3 separate regions of the Homo sapiens genome follow, and all the other regions are linked to region 3. The links are contacts of gene promoters, found by promoter capture Hi-C in blood cells and fetal thymus (Javierre and others, 2016). All regions are on one chromosome and are shown on one strand. The core of a region is centred on a gene start or on the middle of the fragment in contact, and the rest is flanking DNA. Distances in the headings are between cores, read along the strand shown.

Region 1 (3,258 bases), core at 639-3,138, 530 kb before region 3:
AGGTGATGTAGCTTTTAACCCCCAAAACATTAAATATTGGATTCTTATGTGTTTGCATCTTAAGCTGCTAGACCTCATTCATGCCAGACCTCATTCATGCCCTTTGAGGAAGATGCATGCACTGGGCCTGAAGTGGAAGTTGTGGGCATTTTTGAGAGTAAAATGGGTGGATTTGATTCCTCCTGCTACATTTCCCTTCACACTTAGGACTCACTATGACACATGGGCCAAATCCAGTTTGCTGCCTATTTATAAATAAAGTTTTATTGGAACACAGTCGTGCCCATGAGGTTACATACTGACTATGGCTGCTTTTTTGCTACTAATGATGTCTCACACAGAACCCCAACATAAAATACACATAAAAAGTTTGCTGGCCTCTACTTAAGGCCACTTGGTGCTCAGTAGGCTTGGCGCAAATGACTGTGTGGATTTAATTTTTCATACAAAAAGGACACATGAGCAGCCTCTTTAAGGAAGACTTCTTATACCCCCTGATTTATGATACTTTGGAAGAAGAGATTCTCTTTAGAGATTGAGAGAATCTTCTAGCTTTTTCATTTATGGGTATAAAACATTTTTCATTTACTGGTGATTTCTTTCTTTTGAAAAATGGCTAAACAGTGCTCTATTATGTGAGATTAGTCTAAGTGAAAAAATGCACTATAATTTTCAAATATATTAAAATGCACCCTGTCTTGGACTAGTGCCACTCTGCTATTTTCCTTTCATATTCTGGGGTTTTAAATTCACAGGAAATGTTTTAATGGCTTTATCTGAAGCCTATCATGTTGACAAAGAGGCAGGCAGATGACTGACAAGGTAAAGGTCTCAGAAACTGGGAATGGCTGCAGAATTCATGATCCAAAAGGCAGCTTCGTGACTGGCTTGGTGAGGAGTCATTCATATGTCTATAATAACGAGGAAAGACTGGGGTAATTATAAACAAATATGTTAACCAGTTTTTCCAGACAATCCCAGGACTGCTTCAGTTTAAGTGATTATTTTGCCTGAGGCTTTTGGCATCAGCGTTTGTAAGAGTAAACCCCAACACTTGAGTCAGGGAGGCAGAATCTGTAGGCTCAGTTAAAGATTATGGGGGTGTAAAAATGGACAGTGAATGGGATACTAGAATTGTAATGGAAAATGTTTGCCAGGTGCAGTGGCTCATGCCTGTAATCCCAGCATTTTGGGAGGCCAAGGTGGTAGGATCACGAGGTCAGGAGTTCGAGACCAGCCTGACCAACATGGCGAAACCTCGTCTCTACTAAAAATACAAAAATTAGCCAGGCGTGGTGGCACACGCCTATAATCCCAGCTACTTGGGAGGCTGAGGCAGGAGAATTGCTTGAACCTGGGAGGCAGAGGTTGCAGTGAGCCGAGATCGTGCCACTGCACTCCAGCCAGGATGACAGAGTGAGACTCCATCTCAAAAAAAAAAAAAAAAAAGGGAAAATGTTTTACAAGGCTTGAACTTAAGTAATAATTCTCAGCTGTTAAAGGAACCCTATTGCCATTGACAAGCACAACATACTGCCCCTTTTATTAAAGTGTCAGTGTGACCAGGTTTGTTTGTGGGGACACAGTGTGCTCTAGATGTGCTTGGGGTGATTAGGGAAGTGGTTTAGTTTGTGGCTGTAAGTCTTAAAAAAAGAATATAGGTAATTTGAGAAGAACTGGGGTAGGTCATGAAAAATATGGAAAAATTAGAAAGTAGAAATCAAGCTATGGAAGTGGGGCGGGATGAGCAAAACCCATTGTCAAATCAGATCCACGCGGATCATGAATTTTACCCATCATTAAGCTTTACTAATAATTCCGAAGAGGCAGGCTATTGAGAGGCTCAGATAAAGCAGAGAGAGGTCTGGGGCATTGAGGATGTCTCCCTGGGACCCCCTCTCCCTCCCTAGACCTGTCCCTCTGATTCACAATACTAAATGGGTCTAAGTAAGGTGTACAGTGCAAAGCTTTTAAGTTTTAAAAGAACTCCATTTGATACCCCTCATTATTTTGTTGGCTACATGACATTTTCCAGGGAGCCACGCCTCAAAGATTTTGGGTATTGCAATTCTAAGAAATCCTCTGGCCAGAGACATCCTTCTAAGGGCATTCAGTAGACAAGGTTTTTCCTCCTAGCAAAGATCATTCCTCTCATTACCTGGAGGTGCAATTGATGAGAAATTAGATTGGTTCACCTGCCTTCATTCCTTTTTTCCTGGGATCATTCATCTCTTCTCACCACCAAGTCCCCTACTCCCTTTAGGTCAATGAATGGATCACAGCCCTGCTGCTTAAACTTCTTCCTCCTAGGGAGTAAAGGTAAAAAAGGACTGTAATTGTTCAGTGTCAAGCAGAGATAAACAACTTGACAGCTTGCAAACAAAGGAAGAGCAAATGTAAGGTAGGGTTCATGGTGATAGGTATCCTGGAGGAATAATTAGGAAAGGGTTGACCACTACAACAAGAAGCTTTTGGGCTAAAGAATGAGAAACTGTCAGATTTCTAGGATTGTTGGTTTTTCTAAAAAAGCACATTTTAACTTTCTAATTTCTTCTCTTCCTTCCTCCCTCTGTATCCCCTGCCTATCTCTGCTGAATGTTCTCCCCTATCCCACAAGATGACCTCAACTCTGCTGGGGCTCCTGTCCTTGTCGTCACCTTGTTCTTGCTGTCGCCATGCTCCCTGTCTGCCTTCTCCCCTTTGAGGCTGGCGAGATCCTGGAATACAGAGTCAATGCCCCACAGAAGCAACAGTGTTTTCAGCTGAATACTGGGACATGCACAGGAACCTGCAAATGTATCAATAGGATTTTCAATTTAACAAAATTCTTTGAAATCAGATGAGTTATGGCCTGTGAGTTGCCATCTGAAACATAGCAAATACCTTTTAAAATAAATTTAAGTTATAGTCATACTCAGACCTAGACTTTTCCATTTTTGAGCTAATTAGATGCTAGATTAGGTTTACAAAGGAAGCTTTAAAAATAATCATTCTTAGGGATTTTAAAGTTTCTGTTCTGATTATAAAAGAAGTATGTGAGCATTGTGGAAAATTTGAAAAGTACAGGAGAAAAAAAGTCACTCACATGTAATCCTAGCCAAGATAAATACTATCGTACTATTTTATTGCATTTTGCTTCTGGTATTTTAAAAAGAGATATCTGTCTGTCTATCTATCTATCTATCTATCTATCTATCTATCTATCTATCTGTCTGTCTGTCTAGATTCTTAGAACTGGAATTCTTGGGTTAAAGATTT
Region 2 (3,432 bases), core at 751-3,250, 510 kb before region 3:
TACATGCTTTCAAACAACCAGATCTTGTGAAAACTCTATCACGAGACAGCACCAGGTGGATGGTGCTAAACCATTAGAAACCACCTCTATGATCCAGTCACCTCCCACCAGGCCCCTCCTTCAACACATGGGGATTACAATTCGACATGAGATTTGGGTGGGGACACAGAGCCAAACCATATCAAGATCCAATTCTTTGGAGTCACATGTTTAAGAGGAATCCAGATTCTCCTCTTACCAATTATGTAATCAAGTGTCTATTCTTAGTTAAAACCCTGTCAATGCTTCTACTGGTTTTAGAGCTTTAAATTTTGCATAAAATTTCCAGATACTTTCATGTATAATTATTCATGACTATTCTGTCAAAAGAAGACAGTAATAATATGGAAGTATGACATCCATAGTTTCATTGAACTAATTTTAACAACCACCTGTCATGTGCAAGCTGTCCCCAAACCATGGTAGGGGAAGGTGGGATCCAAAGATGCATCAACTATGGATCCATCCTTAGCAGATCTTTAATCTCATATTGATTATTAGTTATGTGTTGCTTCCCCATTAAATGTTTTATCAGAGTAACAGACACTGAAACTGAATGAATTCGTATAACATTCATTGTAGATATTTAGGAATAGCAAAATGACTAATCGATGGACAGCAGGAAGGGAAGGATGTTTTAAAAGTCCAAAGCCTGGATGATCCAATGATGAATGAGTCTCTGAAAAACAGAGATTTGGCTGCATTTAGAACAAGGCCTAAGACATCAGCCTAAGGAGCTAAAAAAAATTGTCAGAGACCTTTAATTGCAAGTTGGAGAAGCCACCTAGTGGTTTGTTTCATAAGTTAAAGTTGTGTGAACATACGAGGCAACTCATCCTTGGATTGATTGAGTGGGTCTCTAATCAAGTGTGACTAACAATCTGGTCACTTTTCATGAAGTCCAGAAAGCAGGGTCATTTTCACTGAGAATAAGCACAGTGTAGCTCTGCCTAATATTTTGTTTATTTTATTGTCATCTTTTTATCTAAAAGGAGTTAAGGCAACTTACATAAAAGTATAGTGAGATAAGATAAACTAGAATAAGACAGGAAAGAAAGAGGAAAATATGAATAAAGTCATAACAAGTAGCCAGAAATTGAAGTAATTCAAAAATGCTTGTGAAATCCTGTATGTATATATTTTTTCATGAAAGGACTTGAAATTTTCAGGCACAAGTGGAAATGGATCAGTTATAAAATTTACAACATCCAGAAAGATGAAATAATTTTTAGGAAAGATAAAACCATCTAGTACTTAGAGCAGAGCAATTTTTCTTCTGGAGGTCCTCACAAATTGCATACTGCATAATGTAATGTATCATGGCCTCCATGCTCATAGTAGAAATAATTCTGAGTCCTGGAGGATTTTTTTTTTTTTTTTGAGACAGAGTCTTGCTCTGTTGCCCAGGCTGGAGTGCACAGGCGTGATCTCGGCTCACTGCAACCTCTGCCTCCCGGGTTCAAGCAATTCTCCTGCCTCAGCCTCCTGAGTAGCTGGGACCACAGGCACACACCACCACACCCGGCAAATTTTTTGTATTTTTAGTAGAGACGGGGTTTCACCGTAGTGACTAGGCTGGTCTCAAACTCCTGACCTCAAGTGATCCACCCGCCTCAGCCTCCCAAAGTGCTGGGATTATAGGCATGAGCCAGCATGCCTGGCCCTCTTTTTTTTTTTTTTAAGACAAAGTCTCACTCTCACCCAGGCCGAAGTGCAGTGGTGCGATCTCTGCGCACTGCAACCTCTGCCTCCTGAGTTGAAGTGATTCTCCTGCCTCAGCCTCCTGAGTAGCTGGGATTACAGGTGTGTGCCACCACCTCCAGCTAATTTTTGTATTATTATTATTATTATTAGTAGTAGTAGTAGTAGTAGTAGTAGTAGTAGTAGTAGTAGTAGTAGTAGTAGAGACAGGGTTTTGCCATGCTGGCCAGGCTGGTATCGAACTCCTGACCTCAAGTGATCTGCTCACCTCTGTGTTCCAAAATGCTGGGATTAGAGGTGTGAGCCAGCGTCCTTGACCTAGGATTGTTTCTTAATTGTGCTACACTGATTTGGAGGAGCATGTGGACCAACCTCCATTTTAAGGACTTGTATTAACTCATTTGATCCTCACAATAAGCCAATGAGGTAGGTAGGTAGTTTTATTATCCCCATATTGCAGATGAGGCAATTGAGGAACAGTGAGGTTAAGAACTTCCCTGAAGTCAGGCTGTTAGTAAATAACAGAGCTGGGATTCAAACCCAGACACTCAGGCTCAGCACCCACAGTATTTTCCAATATGCTATACTGAGTGGCCAAGTAAGTATAATAAGGCCCTTCCAATGAAGACAGCAGTACTTGAGTTTTTTCCCTTACAACTTATATAGTCTGTGAGGGATTAGATAGGTATGCCTTAACATGATGCTAAAGATGTGGCTAGGGTTGCATATTTCTTATATGACTTAGTTAACTTTGCCCTCTTCCAAGGTCACAGATTTTGTCCCTGACCCCAATCACCATGCACATGTGCACATGCACGTTCAACATGCCTTTGGTAAAATAAAAGAGGACCAGGAGAAATTGTTCAAACTTGCCACTTCCTGACTTCTAGAAAATAGCTGAAAGCCCATGCCCTGCTGATGGCATATCCTCAGATTCAAGATCTAAAATGCCGTCGTAACAAAACACAGTTTGTTTTGCTAGCTTTTCTTTTTCCAAGTGGTATCTATAAACATTTGCGAATGGCAGCTAAATTGGTTTTTCTTAAACAGTCATGAGTTGATTGCCAATCAACAAGGCAAGCCTTGTACAGAACTTAGTAGAGAAATAATGGCATCATTGAAACATTTTCAGTTAGAGGAGTCAAAATATCATATAACTTGAGTCCTAAATTGAGCATTTAGAATGATGTTCTTTTGGGCTGTGCATTAGGATAGCTGTGTGGTTAATGTCTTTGCTAAGAAACAGTAAAAGGTATACTCTATAAAATGACTGCTCTATAGTGACAAGCCTCCTTAAAGACAAATTTCTATGACATTTTAAAGGCACACTTATCTCAATAAAGACCCCAATGCTCCTAAAAGATTCAAGTTCTGTATTGGAACAACATGATGGCCTCCTTTACATAGGACTGATAAAGAACTTTAATCAGTTGATAAAGTTGAATTTGTGACAGATTCATCCTATCAAAGGAAAATGAATAAAAAAGAATGTTGCTGAGATATGGTGGTGAAGGAGACATTGCCCAGGAATCAAGAAACTTGGGATTTTCAGGTCTACTTTATTCTGACTACAAAGGGAGACATAGATTTTTTTGTGTGTGTCTGTTTCTTATGAACTTTTGAGCCAGACTTGGCTTCCAATATCTATTCTGATACCTATTAGCTGATGACATTGGATTAGCCAAGGAAGCT
Region 3 (3,538 bases), core at 483-2,982:
AATCCATGGCACTCTTTCAATTTGGAGTGTGGGTCACAAAGATTCCTCAAGAGGTTTTTTTACACTATTTGTAGGAAACTGATATTTGCTGGGTGTTTTGCTTTGTTTTGGTTTGGTTTTAAATCCTTGCATGAATAAAAACAAATGCTAATTTTGTGTCTTTAATGTGTCAGGCATTTTATAGAACACAGAGTTCTAATTACTCCTGTGGCAATTACTGAAGGTGAAACTTTTGGAGAAAATAGGTACCTTGCCGAAATAAATATATTTTATTAGTAGCTTCTTGTGTTTTAAAGCAAATGGAACCTCTGAACTCCTAACACAAGGAGAAGGCAAAGCATTCAGTTCGGGTCTCTCTGGATCTACTGTGGAAGTGGTGGACTCCTCCTTCTGAAGATCTTTAAAAGCAATTGTGCCTGTGTTTATCTGACAAAAAGGACTGATGTGATGTGTTGCTAAATGAGAGACTTTTCAGATTCCCTTTCCACTCTGAGTTTAGAGTTCAAGGCGGGGGAATCTTAAAGGAGAACTTTCCACACTCTTGGAGTAAATAACAATTGAAATATAAAAAATCTGGCGGCGGGGGATGGAGGGGGCATTCTGTAATGGAACTTGTCAGCAAAAAGAAAATGGCAAATAAATGTGAGAAAGGGGCCGAAGGAGGGCAAGACAGTACATAGGGTGCCCCCCACCCACCCGGCTTTTAATGATTCAAGCAAAAAAATCTCTGCTTTGTGTGTAACTGGCACGGTGAACGTGGGAAAGGACACGAAGACCTTTCTCTCCCCACAGCTGGTCCAACTTTCCAATTTTCAGGTTGTTCACAGTGATTTCACTTTCAGTGGAAACGGGCGTCCCATCCCCAGGAAAGGAAGGCTTTCCTGCATGTGTAAAAAAGTAAACTGTTACTTTGTCCTTGCAAAAGAAAACTTCATTCTCTGAACTTCCCCGGGATCTGCAAAGCGCCCCGCGGAACTCCCGGTACTTAGTAGAAGCTCATTAAAGGTCTCTGTTCCCCTTTGCTCCCCGTTCGCCCGCTGGCCCTTTCTCAGAGCCAGACAGGCACAGCGCTGAGAAGGGAAGAAGTCCGAACAGGGAGCTGTGAAGACAAAATAAGGGAGTCCCGAGTCAGTACCCTTTAGTCCAAAGAAAGGGAGCGGGATGGGGGGAAAGGCAGCCCCGCCCTGGGACTGAAAAGTCTGGATTCTTAACAGCTGCAAGGTCGTGGATATTTTATGGGTTTTCTTCCTCACAAAATACACTCCTATAAGCAGAGATTCCCCCCCTCCACCCCGAAGAGAGGTGACGCAATGTCCTCAAACACTACCACCACCCCCAATAAAAAAGAAAAGGGAAGGGGGAGCGTCTTGCAACCCCTTCGCTTCACACAAGTCCAGCCACTCCCTTTCCTCCCAGCCGCTTCCCATCCCTTCCCCCATCCCCTAAAAAGTTTGATGACCGCAAAGGAAACCGAAAAAAAGTTGTCTTGCCCCAGTCCTGGCGGGCCATCAGCATCTCTTTTGTTCGCTGCGAACCCACAGTCCCCCGTGACGTCACCCGGAGCCCGGGCCAATCGGCGCGCGGTCGGCTGCGGCGGCCGGCGGGCGGGCGGGCGGGTGGGGTGGGGCGGGGCGGGGACAGCCCGGCGGGTCTCTCCTCCCCCGCGCCCCGGGCCTCCAGAGGGGCGGGAGGGGACCGTCCCATATAAGCCCCGGCTCCCGGCGCTCGGACGCCCGCGCCGGCTGTGCTGCACAGGGGGAGGAGAGGGAACCCCAGGCGCGAGCGGGAAGAGGGGACCTGCAGCCACAACTTCTCTGGTCCTCTGCATCCCTTCTGTCCCTCCACCCGTCCCCTTCCCCACCCTCTGGCCCCCACCTTCTTGGAGGCGACAACCCCCGGGAGGCATTAGAAGGGATTTTTCCCGCAGGTTGCGAAGGGAAGCAAACTTGGTGGCAACTTGCCTCCCGGTGCGGGCGTCTCTCCCCCACCGTCTCAACATGCTTAGGGGTCCGGGGCCCGGGCTGCTGCTGCTGGCCGTCCAGTGCCTGGGGACAGCGGTGCCCTCCACGGGAGCCTCGAAGAGCAAGAGGCAGGCTCAGCAAATGGTTCAGCCCCAGTCCCCGGTGGCTGTCAGTCAAAGCAAGCGTGAGTACTGACCGCGGGCTGAAACAGGCTGCCTCAGGGATGGGACCCTAAAGCCGACCAAAGTTGGGGCTGAAGTTTTGTGCGCGCGCGTGTGTGCGAGTGTGTGCGCGCTTTACTGAGAGAAACCAGCTGTGCACACAAAAGGACCGAGTTTTGAGCACGCTGGTTCTGAGGGCCTGGGATGATAAGACCGTGCATTGGAGGACGAGGACTCTGCGACTTTCCCGTGTTCTAATAAATTCTGCACGTTCAGATTGTCCTTCTAGGAATTAACCAAAACTTGCCTTTAAAGAGAAAAATGATGCATGTCTATAAATTTTCCGTCTGGGATTAGTGTGGTCCTTACTGCTACTTATTTCCTTCTGTTAAATAATTGGTCAAATATTTTCAACATGGGGGTGGAAAGGGGGTATTGAAATAGCTGTCTTGTTTCTAACTAACTTGGAAGAGATGTAATTGGTTCAGACCTCTTTAGGGCCGCTCAGGATACTTCACCAAGAACAGAGGTTGGAATTCTTTCCGTTTTTCAAAGACACACCCTCCTTTTGCTTTGAGAAAGCTGCTTAAAGTTGTCCTTTTTGACTATTACTCCAAAAGAATATTTAAGTTCCTTGCATGTTTTAAAAATGTGACTTCAATTGTCTGCCTTCCAAAATGTTTCCAACTTTTTTATGTAGACCCCTGGCCAGATGGAAATGACATCATTGTATATAACTTTTAGCAAAGTTAAAAGGAAAAAAATATGTACGTCAATATTCACATGAAGAAAATTCCATAATTTTGGGAAAAGGAGAAATGCAAATGTAACGTTTTCCTTCAATTATTTGCAGCCGGTTGTTATGACAATGGAAAACACTATCAGATAAATCAACAGTGGGAGCGGACCTACCTAGGCAATGCGTTGGTTTGTACTTGTTATGGAGGAAGCCGAGGTTTTAACTGCGAGAGTAAACCTGAAGGTAAGTGACAACAAGCCCCATAGTTAGTATCTTTTAATACATGAAGTGGTAATTGTTAAACTTTGCATTAGTAAGTAAAAATACATACACCATTTTTCTAATAGAATTACCTGTCATTTCCTCTTAAGTTTAAAAACTGCTTATATTTGCTTTTCACATGCTTTTACCTTTAAAACAAAGAAACGAATCTTTCCCAAATTAGTTCCTAGAGTCTTCTTTTTGCTTTACTCTCCCAAAGTTTTTGATGAGAAAAATGAAAGATTTTGTGTGTCCTCCGACAAAAAAAATTGCTTATAAAATTTTAATTTATTAGAAAGCAGTCTCAAATCTTAAACTGTTAGTTTATGAGCCAGAAAACACTTTGGGGACTTACATCGTAAAATGATTTGTCAGCGGCAGTTAACACAAAACCATTAGCCACTTCAAAGTTCTCA

The links. The method cuts DNA at HindIII sites, captures the fragments that hold promoters and counts their contacts. A CHiCAGO score of 5 or more calls a contact.
Region 1: a contact is called between a fragment that was not itself captured here and the fragment with the promoter of FN1 in region 3, in 1 of 17 cell types (non-activated CD4 T cells). The highest score is 6.0, in non-activated CD4 T cells.
Region 2: a contact is called between a fragment that was not itself captured here and the fragment with the promoter of FN1 in region 3, in 2 of 17 cell types (M0 macrophages and monocytes). The highest score is 5.0, in M0 macrophages.

What each region holds. Positions count from the first base shown.
Region 1 is chr2:215,964,793-215,968,050 of GRCh38, reverse strand. All of the region lies in intron 2 of MREG (melanoregulin), which reads left to right. Among named protein-coding and RNA genes, the nearest start is that of MREG, 47 kb to the left of the region's middle. The HindIII fragment of the contact is 163 bases long and covers 1,807-1,969 here.
Region 2 is chr2:215,947,548-215,950,979 of GRCh38, reverse strand. The region is part of intron 2 of MREG (melanoregulin); the gene reads left to right. Among named protein-coding and RNA genes, the nearest start is that of MREG, 64 kb to the left of the region's middle. The HindIII fragment of the contact is 4,786 bases long and covers 1-3,432 here.
Region 3 is chr2:215,434,262-215,437,799 of GRCh38, reverse strand. It overlaps FN1 (fibronectin 1), which reads left to right and starts at 1,732. Exons shown (of 46, transcript NM_212482.4): 1 at 1,732-2,145; 2 at 2,976-3,104. The coding sequence starts at 1,998. It overlaps FN1-DT (FN1 divergent transcript), which reads right to left and starts at 2,109. Exons shown (of 2, transcript NR_187198.1): 1 at 1,491-2,109; 2 at 1-881. RefSeq lists silencers at 1,549-1,638, 1,649-1,708 and an enhancer at 3,221-3,538. The HindIII fragment of the contact is 4,490 bases long and covers 1-3,538 here.